Regions from separate parts of the Homo sapiens genome. Here region 2 is linked to region 1. Evidence: promoter capture Hi-C in human tissues and cell types (Jung and others, 2019). All regions are on one chromosome and are shown on one strand. Each heading gives the region's core, a stretch centred on a gene start or on the middle of the fragment in contact. The rest is flanking DNA. Distances are from core to core; before and after follow the strand shown. Region 1 holds the start of BSN (bassoon presynaptic cytomatrix protein). Region 2 holds the start of RBM5 (RNA binding motif protein 5).

Evidence for each region. Contacts are between HindIII fragments. The study calls those that stand out against the background at their distance.
Region 2: the fragment with the promoter of RBM5 here is called in contact with the fragment with the promoter of BSN in region 1 in 1 of the 25 tissues and cell types used here (bladder).

The regions. Positions count from the first base shown.
Region 1 is chr3:49,550,378-49,558,217 of GRCh38, forward strand. It overlaps BSN (bassoon presynaptic cytomatrix protein), which reads left to right and starts at 4,100. Exons shown (of 12, transcript NM_003458.4): 1 at 4,100-4,449. The coding sequence starts at 4,226. BSN-DT (BSN divergent transcript) reads right to left here and starts at 3,989. Exons shown (of 3, transcript NR_038866.1): 1 at 3,664-3,989; 2 at 3,171-3,310; 3 at 1-1,065. RefSeq lists silencers at 3,908-4,207, 4,278-4,487. The HindIII fragment of the contact is 7,009 bases long and covers 1-6,798 here.
Region 2 is chr3:50,085,485-50,093,324 of GRCh38, forward strand. It overlaps RBM5 (RNA binding motif protein 5), which reads left to right and starts at 3,435. Exons shown (of 25, transcript NM_005778.4): 1 at 3,435-3,545; 2 at 4,898-4,967; 3 at 6,559-6,724. The coding sequence starts at 4,951. RefSeq lists enhancers at 3,292-3,883, 3,403-3,572, 3,613-3,722, 3,884-4,474. The HindIII fragment of the contact is 21,518 bases long and covers 1-7,712 here.

The sequences.
Region 1 (7,840 bases), core at 2,850-5,349:
AAAGAAGGAGTGGGGCAGGAAGCCAATTTCCTGAGTTGCTTTTCATTGGGAAGTGAGACAGGCCTCAGCAGCACTTTAGCAAAAAGAAGGGTGCAGAGTTCAAGGAGCCTTGTAGGCAGGAGACAGGTCTCTCAGCCTCTCTGGAATAGTCCAAAGTCCATGGCATTATATCCTCTAGATACAGCCTGTCCTGTGTCATCCTTCTCTATTGTCTTCCTCCTCTGATCTCTCTAATGCCTACTCTTGCCTGCAAAGTTTGCCATTCTTCTTCACCCCCATAGACATCTTCATCTTTGGATCTCGTGCCTCCCCACGGAGGCTGCCATGCTGAAAGGATCAGCCCAGGGTAAACTGGACTTATGGGGAAGCAGGGAAGAGTCTGAGCTCTACCCCTTCTCCCTTTCTTGGGGATGACCGGCATGATGCTTTGCCTACGGCACAACTACACCTCTGGGTGTAGTTCCTGAGGTCCTGTCATCTCTTCATTCTTCCACGATTTGCCTTCTGGTGACTAATCATTTCTACTAATCCCAGCAGTGAGTTGGCTCTGATTGGGCCTTTTCCCACATGGATTTTTTTGTTTAGTTTTGTTTTTTTGAGACAGGGTCTTGCTCTGTCACCCAGGTGGGAGTGCAGTGGCACCATCACAGCTCACTGCAGCTTCAACCTCCCAGGCTCAGGTGATCCTCCCACCTCAGCCTCCCGAGTAGCTGGGACTACAGGTGCATGCCACCACACCCAGCTAGTTTTTGTATTTAGTAGAGAAAGGGTTTCGCCATGTTGCCCAGGCTGGTCTTAAACTGCTGAGCTCAAGCAATCCACCTGCCTTGGCCTCCCAAACTGTTGGGATTACAGGAGTGAGCCACTGTGCATGGCCCTGGATGGCTTTTTGTTGTTGTTGCTGTTTTTTCTGATTCCATTTTCCCTCTGGTCTTCTACAAGTGTCTGAGAACATAGGCTGGAGAAGCAAGCTGGCACATGTCTGTTGGTTCCATTTAGGCATGTGGATTGATTGTCCTCTCATCTGGCCATCTCCAAAATGGCTGCCATGTGTCACATGTTATGCTGAAGTGGGAAGAAGATATTTCAGCAAGTGAAGCTTAGGGGACTGGGAAACTCCTGCAGGGTCTCTAGGTCTATCCTGTCCCTGGTGGGGCAGCAGTTGGACCCAGGAGGACATGATACTTGACACACCACACAGCTGGCTTGCATAAACTGAAAGATTTGTTTATTCATTTGTCATAAAGCATAGTCAAGCCTAGTGAATTTTCCTGGATGAGTGAAGAGAGCTCATCAACAACCCCTCCATGAGGAGAAACCAGATGCAATCCCAGCACTCTCCCTGTTACTTATTAGCTCAGCAGCTAAAGCCAAAGATCTCTCTGAGTGCTTTTAAGCCTGGTGATTGGTGGGCCCTTTAGAAGCGCAGGTGAGGGAAATGCTCAGAGCGTCATGGAGAAGCCAGCACAACCATGAGCCCCAGAGGGCCTGCTGAAGGCCAGCCCAGGGGATAGGACCAGTCAGACAAGGTCCTGCTGTTGAGGAGCCCCAGTCTAGATCAAAAGGAGGTAAACAGCCTCTGGGACAGTGAATGGAAATGGGAGATTGAATCAGAGCCCCAGATAACCAGAGGCCAATACCATCCCATGGTCCACAAGAGTCCCTGGGCTGAATGTCAAGGGTGAATGAACACAGGGCAGGCATGTTCCTGGGGATGCTCCTCAAAGGAAACAGAACTGGGAGAGTTTGAGAGGAGAGGAGGGGCACCTCTAACCCACATTTTCAGGTCTCCTGGGTCCACTGTGCTGTGCCCTTTGTCACCAGGGCAGCAAAGACCCTGGAGGTCTGCTAACAGCCAGGAATCCACTCTGAGGAGGGCAACTCCCCAAGCCTGCAGGCTGGGTAGAGCTAATTAACCACACAGGAACCAGAGGCATGTTGATTTAAATCTGTGGAAAGCCATAGCTCCTGTGGTTTCTACAAAAACAAAAAAATAAACATCCTTTCCCCTGTTTCAAGTAGCCCAACCCACACTGACTGGGGTCTGTGAAGCTATAACAGCCTGGGTTGGGACAAGGTCAGGCCACTGGCCTGCCCATAGTGTTTGTGAGCATATTCTTCCCCAGGAGGAAATATATGGCACAAGACCGCCACATCCCAGACCATCACCAGGGAGACAACTAATAACAGAGTTGTCATAAGTATACCAGGCACTTGTCCTGGTGTTTTACCTACATCAGGCTGGGTGCATTGACTCATGCCTGTAATCCCAGCACTTTGGGAGGCCGAGGTGGGAGGATCACCAGAGGTCAGGAGTTCAAGACCAACCTGGCCAACATGGTGAAATCCCATCTCTACTAAAAATACAAAAACTAGCCAGGTGTGGTGGTGGGCACCTGTAATCCCAGCTACTAGGGAGGCTGAGGCAGGAGAATCATTTGAATCCGGGAGGTGGAGGTTGCAGTGAGCCGAGATCACACCACTGTACTCCAGCCTGGGTGACAGAGCGAGAGTCTGTCTCCAAAAAATAAAAATAAAAAAAATAAAATGAATAAAAAATAAAATATCTACATCAGCCACTCTACCCTTACAATCCCCCATATTCGAGGAGCTACTAAGATTCTAACTTTGCAGAATAGGAAATGGAGGCTCAGTGAGCCTAAGTCAGTTGCCAAGGGTCCTATCGGGGCTGAGGTGCAGACTCTTTTGGAGCCTAAATGTGCACATGTAGTCACCACTCACGAAGCTGTATCAAACATCCTGCAGCACAGGAGGAAACACAGCAAGGACCATCATCTGCAGGAAGAGAGGCTCTCTTCATCCTAGGTCATCCCAGAGGGGCCAGGCAGTTTAGCGTGAAAACGGGAGGTATGAAGTCAGGAGAAAATATCAGGAAGTGGGGGCTCTGCATTTCCTCTTTCTCTTACTTGCTCCATCCCAGAGGTCGGGAGGAGCAGCTCGGAGTGCACAGGGGAAGGCCCAGGGAGGGTCCTGGCCCCTCCTCACAAGAACTGACACAGCCACCGGTCTGTCCAGCAGGCTGGCTATCAGCATTCACTGGGATCCCTGGATTATTCTAGGTTCAGTTAGAACTGCTAACACCCTATGTGATATATTTCGCAACATTAGGAGAATTGAATGGGTTTGTAAAATGGGTTCAAGTTACTCACGCCTTTCTACACAGTCATGATTTATGACGTCAGAGATGAACTGGAATATAGGCTCCTAGGAAATATTCTCCCACAGGAAAGTACAGGCTTGTGTGAGAAGCCACCACGGCAGACAATCCTGAGTAGCGGGCAGAAACCGGCTGTAAATGTGAGGGAGCGGGGAAGTAATTTGGAAAGCTCTCAGGGTAATGCAGAGGCAACCTGCGGCCCCGCATCGAGACAGCTCCAGGCCTGAGAACCATCAAGTCCTCTTTTCCATCCCCAAGGTCACTCTCCCAGGGCTGACTGAGGTGGCCTCCCAGCTGGCTTCACACAGCCCTGTCACACCTTCCATCTGTGCCCGGGGCGCTTCCTGAGACTCCCAGTTCCTCAGTGTGAATCCCAGATGGTTCCCATCGCCATCTGGATAAAGGCTCCACTCCCCAGCTGGCCTTAAAGACCCTCACAATCCGGCCCGACCACCCAGCACCCTCCCTCTCCTTCCCTCTACGACCTTGCGTCTCTGAATACACTTGTTCCTCTGCCTTCCCAACTCCTATGCATACTTTTGAGGCCATTCTCGGGTAGCCCCTCTCCTCTCCGAGGCCTGTCCTTATGACGCCTGCCCGCTGTGGCACTCCGGTTACCCGGAGGAGAGTTGCTACTCTCGAGTTCACCGAGGCGGAAAGCCCCTCTGACTCCAAAGCAGGGCTCAGCGCGACGTCCCAGAGGCCGCTTCTAGTGGCAGGTGCCCCTCCTCACAGGGCCCTCGCAGCCCCGCCGGCCCCCGCCCGGCTCCTTCTCAGCATGATACAACCGCGTCGGCCCTGGACAGCGCATGCGCGGGCGCCGGCGGCTGTTTCCCAGCGACCCCGAGGCTGGCGGGAGCGCGCACAGGGGAAGGGGGGCGTGTGCAGGGAAGGGGGCGCGAGACGCGCATGCGCAGCGGCAGGCGGCGGCGCGAGCCGAGCTGGGAGATGGCGGCGGCAGCGGCGGCGCCGAGAGTGTGAGCACCGCCCGGGAGCCGCCGGCCCGGGCGCAGCGCGACCCCGACCCCGCCCGCCCGCCTGCCCGCCATGGGCAACGAGGTCAGCCTGGAGGGCGGCGCTGGCGACGGGCCGCTGCCGCCCGGCGGCGCCGGCCCCGGCCCGGGCCCCGGCCCCGGCCCCGGCGCAGGAAAGCCGCCTTCAGCACCGGCCGGTGGCGGACAGCTCCCCGCGGCGGGAGCAGCGCGGTCGACCGCGGTACCACCGGTCCCTGGCCCCGGCCCCGGCCCCGGTCCCGGCCCTGGCCCGGGCAGGTAAGCGCGTGTCTCGGCGCCCGGGGGGCGGTGAGCTGCAGCCTGAGGCCGGGACCCGGGCCCAGGATCCCGCGATCTAGTGTGGACAGCGAGGTTCGACGTCCGGCCGCACTCTGAACCCTGCCGGATTGGCGTGAACTGGGTGGTCGCGGGAAGCGGCCCTTCCTTTCCAGCTGCCCCGCCTTGGCGTGGCAGGATGACGAGCGCAGGGTCAGTCGGGGCCTGCAGACCGTGACTCCGTCACGAACCCCAAATTCGCTTCTCCCCAACGCTCGGGCCTGACTGCTCAGGAGGGGCTTATGTAACCTTAACCTGGTCCCTCCGCACAGGAGAGCAATGGGATGGAAAACGTCCTCCCTGTCTGCTGGTGTCTGCATGTGTCCATTGTGCTGGGCCGAGAAAACAGCACAATGGGAGTGGCTGTCAGGGAAGATAAGTGTCACTGCGAGGAACAGAGAGATGAAAATAGTTGAACCATGAACTTGGTCTTGGGCTTTCCTTGGGCATTTAGTGGCTGTAATCACCTTTGGGGGAAAGGAAAATTGCCCACTGGACACCAAGAGGTGCTTATTTAGGCCCAACAATACTAATAGGATCATGTGCTTTCACCAAGGTTTAGGGAAACATTTTGGGGTGAAGCAAAAATGCTATTGAGTCATCCAGCACCAGATATGTTCTCGTTACCTTATGATTTAGATCAAACCAGTGGAAAAGCTGAAACCCACACAGAATGCTTTAAACAGAACATATCTGATTAAATACTGTGAAACCAGTTTGTTTTAAATGTATGCCAACCCAGGTCCTGCAAAAACAGTCAAGTGGCAATGAAGGCTGTAAGGGAATGCCAATATATAATAAGTCAGTAGACTGAAAACTCAGGAAAACTACTAAGAGATGACACGATAAAATGGAAGGCATTATCTTTGCACCAAATAGGCTTGGGGAGTAGCAAAACCCCCAGGGGGTGGGAGGGAGGTGCTTCCAGCTCCATGTGGGTCTGCTGATATATGTTGCCCTGGCTTTTCTGTGTGGAAGCACATAAACTGAGGACGCATAATTTTTTATTCTTTGGCTGCCCGACTGTGCCTCTTGTGTGTTTATTTCCTCAGAAGTCATTTCTTAGACAACTAACAGTAATGAAAGGCTGTTAGTAGCTTGAAACCTGCGGCAGACAGGTCAGCCTGTGAGCATCCTTTTTAGAGGTGGGATTTGTCCATTTTATACTAGCTATAATAGTAATGCAGTTGGATAGCACACAGCTCTTAGCACTGCAAACACTGTCCATTTTGCTGCATGTTGAGTTGCTGTTTGGGTTTTAGCTTGAGGGAGGCTCACCCAGGCTTTAGTGTTCTCCTTCCAAGGGAAAGCTTCTGTAGCTGAATGGAAAAACACCTTGTTATTGAGAGTTCCCTGTATGGGGAATTTGTCATTTCTCTTCTGATAACCAAACAGGCTGCTCTGCTTGTAGTTTATCAGATGTTGCAGAGCCAATCATATGAAATTCTGGAAAGACCTGGGCAGCTCAGAGGGACCGGAAGGAGGCTGATGTCTATTGCTCATATGCCTTTTTAGTGTTTCATTTGTACTTCATCTGTACATTCTGCTGCAGGCAGACCCATGAACTGCTGTGGGTGAGGCGAACCACGGACTCCTGATGGATTTAGTAGTCACACAATCTCTTACCTGGCTGTGGGCAAGGCTCATACCTGAGCCTGTGGTGCTGAGGTCCTGTGACTATCAGACTCAGGAGGTGAGCTGGCTATTTGTCCCCAAAGCTCAGAACCAGAGACCATTAGGAGGTGGGATTTACTCCTCCAGCTGATATTCATTTTATCATAGCACCTCAGCTGAGCAGCAGCTCCATGGCTTATCTCTCCTTTAGTATTGCAATGGCTTCTACTTCCTCTCACTAGAGCATCTCAGATACCTGATGCCAAATTTAGCATGTTCTAAGATGCTGCTGAACAGATTGGCCCATTGATGGGGAAAAAGCCCTGTGAATGTGCTTCTGGGCATTCAGGAAAGAGCATTAGCACAAAGACATATTTGCTTTCAGTAAGATTTTGAATTTCGGGGCAGTCAGAAACCTCATAGAGGTGGGTAGAAGGCCAGGTAAAAGGGAGATGATTCTGGGGGAGTTAAATGCTATTGCCATATTACCTTGTCATCCCAGGCTGAATTAGTCTTTTCATCCTCATACTGAGCTGAGTTGGACTCTGTGAGGGGGTGGCTCCAGCATTTGCTGCTGAAGAGCCTGACTTGAATCCCATGAGTAGCAGTGCTGCCACACCCATAGTGGTGCCTCTTAGCCCGTCGGGATGATGTGGAGCTTTGGGCATTGGAGAGTCCCTCAAGGAAGGGCTCTCTGCTTCTGGTGTCAGGGTGGCCATGTACAATTATATAATCTGTGCCTTTTCCAAGGAGTGCTGGTTTGGGAGAAAGCTGAACTCTAACCCAGGCTCCACTCTCCAAGCTGTGTGCCCTGGTGTAGGCTGCATCCTCTTAGATGAAGGGGCATCATTCACTCGTTAATTCATTTACTTATTTATGGAGATATGCCTAATGTACAGTGGAACACACATATTGATGGGATTTTATTTATACATACACTCGTGACACACTACCAGATCAAGACAGAACTTTATCAGTACCCCAGAAAGTACTTTTTAAAATAATTACACGAAGGAGCCATGTAGACCAGTGGCAGCCTGTCTAGTTTACACCAGCTCTGTGGACTTGCACCTGTCAGTTTTTTTTTTTTTTTTTTTTGAGTTGGAGTCTCGCTCTGTCGCCCAGGCTGGAGTGCAGTGGCACGATCTCCGCTCACTGCAAGCTCCACCTTCTGGGTTCACGCCATTCTCCTGCCTCAGCCTCCCGAGTAGCTGGGACTGCAGGCGCCCACCACCGCACCCAGCTAATTTTTTGTACTTTTAGTAGAGATGGGATTTCACCGTGGTCTCGATCTCCTAACCTTGTGATCTACCTGCCTCGGCCTCCCAAAGTGCTGGGATTACAGGCGGGAGCCACTGCACCCGGCCCAACTTGCACATGTTTTGATGTTTGCAAATTGATATCTAGTCGATCAGCTAAGGTGTATTTGTCAGCTGTCAAGAGCAAGCACAGTTATTGGCTTTGTGGATGGTATGGAAAGGATATATAGTGCTTCCCTGTCCTTCAGCACCTCACAGACTGGTTGGTCAGATAGCTCTTGAAGAGCCAAATCATGGAAGAACCCTAAGAGAGACACTGTGGGCAGCTCAGTATCTGAGAAATGTCAAATAAGCAGTGCTTACAGGGTTGTTAATTGGGAAGAGTGGAGAGGCACAGCTAAGCTTTAGGAGAGGTAGAGATGTAAGGCTGGAAAAATGACTGGGTTAAGAGAGGTAGAGAT
Region 2 (7,840 bases), core at 2,185-4,684, 530 kb after region 1:
GCCAAGGCAGGCTGCTGGGAGGTGGAGGTTGTAGCGAGCCGAGATCATGCCACTGCACTCCAGCCTGGGCACCATTGAGCACTGAGTGAACGAGACTCCGTCTGCAATCCCGGCACCTCGGGAGGCCGAGGCTGGCGGATCACTCACGGTTAGGAGCTGGAGACCAGCCCGGCCAACACAGCGAATCCCCGTCTCCACCAAAAAAATACGAAAACCAGTCAGGCGTGGCGGTGCGCACCTGCAATCGCAGGCACTCGGCAAGCTGAGGCAGGAGAATCAGGCAGGGAGGTTGCAGTGAGCCGAGATGGCAGCAGTACTGTCCAGCTTCGGCTCGGCATCAGAGGGAGACCGTGGAAAGAGAGAGAGAGGGAGACCGTGGGGAGAGGGAGAGGGAGAGGGCTAGAAAAGACAATCTTAAAGGACTATCCCTTATTGAACATATGTGGCTTTATTTAAAACAAAGAGCAACTCACTCTGATGTCTTTCTTTTTCTTACATCAGCTACCAGACAGGCCTTTGGCAGCAGAGCTCTGGAGCTCAACAGGCCAATGTCTAAAAGAAGATCAGCTACCAGAGATAATTTGGAGGATGGCACTTACCTATGGATGAAATCCATCTTTTTTTGCCAGGGACCTCTTCAAGTTTAAGAATTATTTTGCAGGCTGGGCATGGTGGCTCACGCTTGTAATCCCAGCACTTTGGGAGGTTGAGGCAGGAGGATCGCTTGAACTCAGGAGTTCGAGACCAGCCAGGGCAACATGGTGAAACTCCATCTCTACCCCAAAAATACAAAAAATTAGTTGGGCATGGTGGTGCACACCTGTGGTCTCAGCTACTCAGGAGGCTGAGGTGGGAGGATCTCTTGACCTGGATAGGTCGAGGTTGCAATGAACCGAGATCATGACATTGCACTCCAACCTGGGTGACAGAGTAAGACCCCGTCTCAAAAAAAAAAAAGATTATTTTGAGGTTTGTGAATAGCTATATAGCTTTTATGACTGGTGGTAAGCCCAGCTCAGCAAGCACCTCAGGAATATCCAAAGGTGCTTGTTGAACTGCTTTGGGGACAAGGCAGGCAACGGCTAGTGGCTATGAAGTCTAGTGAGTTCTAGATTCTTGGCATCTGCATCATCCATTGTAGGGTTTGCAGTGATGTCATCAATGTTAACTTTTAAATTTCATTAATGCATGTACTCTTTTCTGATATTTTGCATATATGCTTCCCCATAAATTGTATATATTTCCTCTCTAAATACACACACACCACATATATTATATTTCTACCTTTTCGTCTATATATGTATTGTGTATATACCTATATATAGATATATACACTGACATCCCTCCACTTATTCTTGAAAGATTTGTTTTCCAGAGAGAGAAGAAAATGGTATAGGCACAGTTTTCTGTAACTGATGTATAACTTTCTGTAACTAATGGTATAGGCACAGTTTTCAATTTGTATGACCTGAAAAATCAGTTCTGGCTGGGTGCGGTGGCTCATGCCTGTAATCCTAGCACTTTGGGAGGCTGAGGCAGGTGGATCACCTGAGGTCAGGAGTTCGAAACCAGCCTGGTCAACATGGTGAAACCCCATCTCTACTAAAAATACAAAAATTAGCTGGGTGTGGTGGCGGGTGCCTGTAATCCCAGCTGTTTGGGAGGCTGAGGCAGGAGAATCACTTGAACCTGGGAGGCAGAGTTTGCAGTGAGTTGAAACTGTGCCATTGCACTCCAGCCTGGGCAACAGGAGCAAAACTCCATCTCAAACAAACAAACAAACAAAAATGTTTGCAAAGCATCTAGGGCAATAATATAGCATCTAGTAAAGCGATCAACTAATGTTCCTCATTTTAATTTATTTTTTATTTTTATTTTTTTTTGAGATAGAGTCTTGCTGTGTTGCACAAGCTGGAGTGCGGTAGAGCAATCTCGGCTCACTGCAACCTCCGCCTCTTGGGTTCAAGCGATTCTCCTACCTCAGCCTCCCAAGTAGCTGGGATTATAGGTGTGCGCCACCACACCCAGCTAATTTTTGTATTTTTAGTAGAGACGGGGTTTAGCCATGTTGGCCAGGCTGGTCTCGAACTCCTGAGCTCAGCTGATCCACCTGCCTCGGCCTCCCACAGTGCTTGGATTACAGGCATGAGCCATCATGCCTGGCCCCTCCTTTTTATTTATTTATTTATTATTATTATTATTATTATTATTATTATTATTATTATTATTATTTTGAGACTGAGTCTTGCTCTGTCACCCAGGCTGGAGTGCAGTGGCACGATCTCAGCTCACTGCAACCTCTGCCTCCCTGGTTCAAGTGATTCTCCTGCCTCAGCCTCCCTAGTAGCTGGAACTACAGGTGCATGCCACCATGCCCGGCTAATTTTTGTATTTTTAGTAGAGACGCGGTTTCACCATATTGGTCAGGCTGGTCTTGAGCTCCTGACCTCGTGATCCACTTGCCTCGGCCTCCCAAAGTGCTGGGATTACAGGCGTGAGCCACTGCGTCCAGCCTTTTTTTTTTTTTTTTTTGAAACAGAGTCTCACTCTGTTGCCCAGGCTGGAGTGCAGTGGCGCAATCTCGGCTCACTGCAAGCTCCGCCTCCCGGGTTCACACCATTCTCCTGCCTCAGCCGCCCAAGTAGCTGGGACTACAGGCGCCCGCCACCATGCCCAGCTAATTTTTTTGTATTTTTAGTAGAGACGGGATTTCACCGTGTTAGCCAGGATGGTCTCGATCTCCTGACCTTGTGATCCGCCCGCCTTGGCCTCCCAAAGTGCTGGGATTACAGGAGTGAGCCACCGCGCCCAGCACCGGCCTCCTTTTTATTTTTTAGCGACAGTTTCTCGCATTGTCCCCAGGCTGGAGTGCTGTGACGAGATCACAGCTCACTGCAGCCTCGACCTCTTGGGCCCAAGCGAACCTCTCACCTCAGCTCCTGAGTAGCTGGGACAAGAGGTGCACGCCACCATGCTCAGTTAATTTTATTTTTTGTAGAGATAGGATCTCACTGTGTTTCCCAGGCTGGTCTCGAACTCCTGGCCTCAAGCGATCCTCCTGCCTCGGCCTCCCAAAATGCTGGCTTGTGAGTGAGCCACCACTTCACGCACGGTCTCCTTTTGAAGTAGAATTAGACAATGTTTTACACCGTGCCAGTGAAAGCAAACTGTACTCTCTACGGCGCTAGTAGCAAAAGCAAAGAATTATTAACATGCCTAATAGGAGCCCTAAAAACTAATCCAGGTCTGCAAAAGCCGATCGACAACTCTGTAGTGATTTAGAAGAGAATTGCAAGACATTAACACAGAGCGTCCTAAGTGACAGGATGGTCTGGCGACCACATTTCCCGGCAGCCCTCGCACAGCCAGGCCGCTTCGAGGATTGGACTTCTCCGCAGGAGGCGGGTGACAGGGGGAGGGGATAAGCGTGAGGTACTGTGGGTAGGAGACGGCCGTCGGCGGAGGCGCCATTTTGTGTAGCCGCCGAACCTTGTTGGAGGTTCTGGGGCGCAGAACCGCTACTGCTGCTTCGGTCTCTCCTTGGGGTAAGTGCGGCGGCTGTCTGTAACGACGGTAGGTTCTTGCCATTTGGGCTGGCCCCCAAGCCTCCCTTGTCAGCTGCCGGAGGCGACTGATCAGCTCCAGCCGGTTCTGTAGAGGGGCTAAATTACCCCAGGCGTTGGAGGGCCGCGCCCTTCCTTGTTGCCAGCTCTGTCAGTTTCCAGAGGGTGTCCAGCCAGCTCAGCCTTGGGCCTGCTTCTTTCTGGCTGTGACTTTGCCCCTTGTGGATACACGTCCCCTAATCTTCAGCCCAACGGAGCAGTGGAGCCGTCGCCTGTCCCTCGGGCACTCCTTGGGAGCTCCCTGGCAGTCTCTGGCCGCCATCCCCCGCTCAACTGCAACTGAATCGCCCTCTCCGAAAAGCTGTTCGGTGATCGCCCATCTGCGGGTTTGGAACCTCTTGGGAGGCGGGAGGGGCATGTGCGGGGAGGGCAGGCCGGACGCTGGAGTCGGTCGAGCAGGCCGTGACGCCGCCATCTCGGCCGCGAGACCCCACGGAGGTGGGTGCCGGCACCGCCCGGGAGACAAGGGGCGGCACCAGTGAATATGCCCCGGGACTTGTTTCCCCCCAGTGGTTCTTTTTCATTTATTAATTTCAACAAATCGTTGAGCATTCGCTCTAGACTAGGCTTCCAGAGACTACTGGAACTGATTTTTCGGACCTCGCGCTCATCGAACGCGGTCCAGCAGTGTGATGTCTTATTACCAACGGGGGGCGGGGGGCCGGGCTGTTCACTACTCAGTGGTTTGTAGTCATAAGAACTGGCTCAAGACGTGGTGGTTATTGTTACCTAGGAATTAGGTCGTTTCTAGCTTTGCTCTTGTCTTATGCGATACGTTATTAATGTAGTAGATTTCAGTCAGCTCAGTATCCCAGCTTCTACGAGGTTTTACATTTTTCATCAGAAGTGTTTGAATTTCATGTTGCTCCTTGTATTAATGAAGACACTTGGATTAATGTTTTAACGGTCAACTATCCCACGGAGTTGCTTTGATACAAAACCAAGGAGCTGATTGTAGCTCTGCCCTTTTTGCTTTGTAATTCTAAGGTAGGAGCAGGGAAGGAGTCTTCTGCTTGCTCCGTATTATGATTCTGTTAAATCTGGAATCTAATATTTTAAAATATGCTTAATCTTCCGGTTTTGCTCATTGTTAACAAAATGTTAGCACGATTTTAACGTTGACAGTTTGTCCCCACCACTTCCCCACCTTAGATAATCACTGTCAATGATTTGAAGGTTTGATGAAATCCCAGCCTCAGTAGTATCCAAGCTATGGAGCTGCTGACTTAAGTGATCTCTGAGATTTATAGCAATTAATCTCTCTTGTCTCCTAGAAAAAATAAAATTTGAACCTTTTGGAGCTGTGTGCTAAATCTTCAGTGGGACAATGGGTTCAGACAAAAGGTAAGTTACTACAGTACGTGGCTTTGATCTCAACATTTCAGTGGGGACTGAACTCCTTGTTTAAAATAGTTTATCAAACTAATATATGAGTGTTTTGCGCCAGGCATTGCTAACGAACACCTTTATGATCCTGTTGTCACAAACTACAGTCTAGTGAGAGAATTAAAGTACTGTGTGAACATGCTGTGATAAAGTGTAGGGTGCTCTTAGAACACATAGGAAGTATGTCTTTTTCTTGTTCACAGCCAGGAAAGCTTCCTGGAGAAAATATTCTCTGGAAGGAAGCTGAAGGATAAGAAAGAATTTTAGGCAAAGAAGGGCAGGGTAGAGTGGGTCACTGAAGGTTCCCTGTGTGGACAGCAACCTTTGCAGAATCCAGGAGATCATACAGTCTGGCACTTAGCACAGTTCCTGGCTGTGGTAAGCAATCAATGAATGCCATTTCTTGTTATTGTTCCCTGAATAGCAAGATGATCCAGACTTAGAGAGCTGAGAAGCTTGGGACTGTGTGTTACATGAAGAAAGAAAGAGCCAAAGAATTAGTGGAAAATTAAGATGAGAGCATTTGGCTATTGTGTCACCTATGGGTACATGCTCTCAGACCATTTGATTTAAACACACACCCTTATTCAGCCATCTGCCTTTTTAGTATTGAGGTCAGTCCCTGTGGTAGATCACATTGACAGGCTGAGGGACCTTAGGAGATGTTCATGTCACATGGTATTTTAATGCTGTGTCAGCAGTCTGTGGTTCTAAATAGCTTACTAAATTAACATTTACCCCTTTGGGGTGTCTCAGTCCCATATTTCCTTTGATTCTTTTTATTAAATTTGTATATTCTAAATGAAGCCCTTATAAACCTTTCCTTTGCCTTATGATTGCACAGCAGTTTTATGAATCTGGTAAACAGTTTACAAAAGGTGTATTTTATCTGTGGTCAAATAGGTTTAAGCCTCTTGTTATTAGGTTTTCCCATGAAGCCCAGTGCTGCCCTTTAGCCAAAAATAAACCAGATGTTATAAGAAGAGTGTTCTCTTAAGGGGTGCTAGTTTTGGGTAACTATCCAGTTGTATCTGACAGACAACTAAGTTGCCTGATGGGGAAAAAAAAGACTAACTTAGTTCATCCAGGTTTTTGGTCCATTTTCCAGTAGGCATGATACCCTTGAGAGTAGATGAGCCAGGGATGTACTTAATTTCACCCTTTAAAATTGGGTGAAATTCGAGTAACTGCTTTCTTCCTGTTTTTGGTCACTAAGATCTGAATCAGGGATGAAGGGATAATATGTAGACTCTAGGCTTGACAAAATGCAAAAATAAACTTGGACAACATGACTCTTTCTTAGAAATATTCAACCCAAATGTTTATTTCAGATTTAGCATACATTCCTGAGAATTATCATTACATTTAGGGATGTAGGTATTTTCCCAGTGGTTATCTTAGTAAACTGGAATTTGGTAATACTTTTTAACACTTTAAACTATTTGGATTATCTTATAAACTGATCTGTGGGCCGTGTGTATTTTTAACTATGTCTTTTAAAGGTACAAAATGTGACTGACTTTAGAATGAAAATTATTTTCCCTGGCAGAGTGAGTAGAACAGAGCGTAGTGGAAGATACGGTTCCATCATAGACAGGGATGACCGTGATGAGCGTGAATCCCGAAGCAGGCGGAGGGACTCAGATTACAAAAGATCTAGTGATGATCGGAGGGGTGATAGATATGATGACTACCGAGACTATGACAGTCCAGAGGTGAGTGACCAGCGGCTGTATAACCCCCCAAAACACTCTGAGCCTTATAGTAATAGAAATAACAGCCAGGCAGCCAGGTCCAGTGGCCCCTTCCCATAATCCTATCACTTTGGGAGGCCAAGGCGGCCAGATCACTTGAGGTCAGGAGTTTAAGACCAGTCTGGCCAACATAGTAAAACCCGTCTCTACTAAAAATACAAAAATTAGCTGAGTGGGGTGGTGGGCGCCTGTAATCCCAGCTACTTGGGAGACTGAGGTAAGAGAATCACTTGAAACCTGGGAGGCGGAGGTTGCAGTGAGCTGAGATTGTATCAGTGCTCTCCAGCATGGGTGACAAAGCAAGACTCCATCTCAAAAAAAAAAAAAAAAGAAAAGAAATAATGGCCAGGGTTTACATAGGGATCACCATGTACTTTTGAGCACTTGACTTCATGAATTCATTTAGGTCTCAGTACAACCTGATAAGGTAGGTGTTATTCCCATTTTAAAGATGAAACAATGGGGTTATGATAACATATTAGTTCTGTGTTTTGAAATGAATGATAAATATAAGTTGTTGGCCAGGCACAGTGGCTCACACCTGTAATCCCAACAATTTGGGAGGCCGAGGCAGGAGGATCCCTTGAGCCCAGGAGTTAGAGGCCAGCCTGGGCACCATAGGGAGACCCTGTCTTTAAAATAATAATAATGAAAAATAATAAATATAAGTTGTTGTTTTGGTCATCTTGATATATCTTTTTTTTTTTTTTTTTTTTTTTTTTTTGAGACAGCTTTTTAGTCTTGTCACCCAGGCTGGAGTGCAGTGGTGCGACCTCAGCTACTCAGGAGGCTGAGGTACGAGAATTGCTTGAGCCTGGGAGGCAGTGGTTGCAGTGAGCTGAGATCATGCCATTGCACTCCAGCATGGACGACAGAGGGAGACTCTGTCTCAAAAAAAAAAAAAACCAGAAGGCCGGCACGGTGGCTTACGCCTGTAATCCCAGCACTTTGGGAGGCCGAGGCGGGCGGATCATGAGGTCAGAAGATTGAGACCATCCTGGCTAACATGGTGAAACCCTGTCTCTACTAAAAATACAAAAAATTAGCTGGGCGTGGTGGCAAGTGCCTATAGTCCCA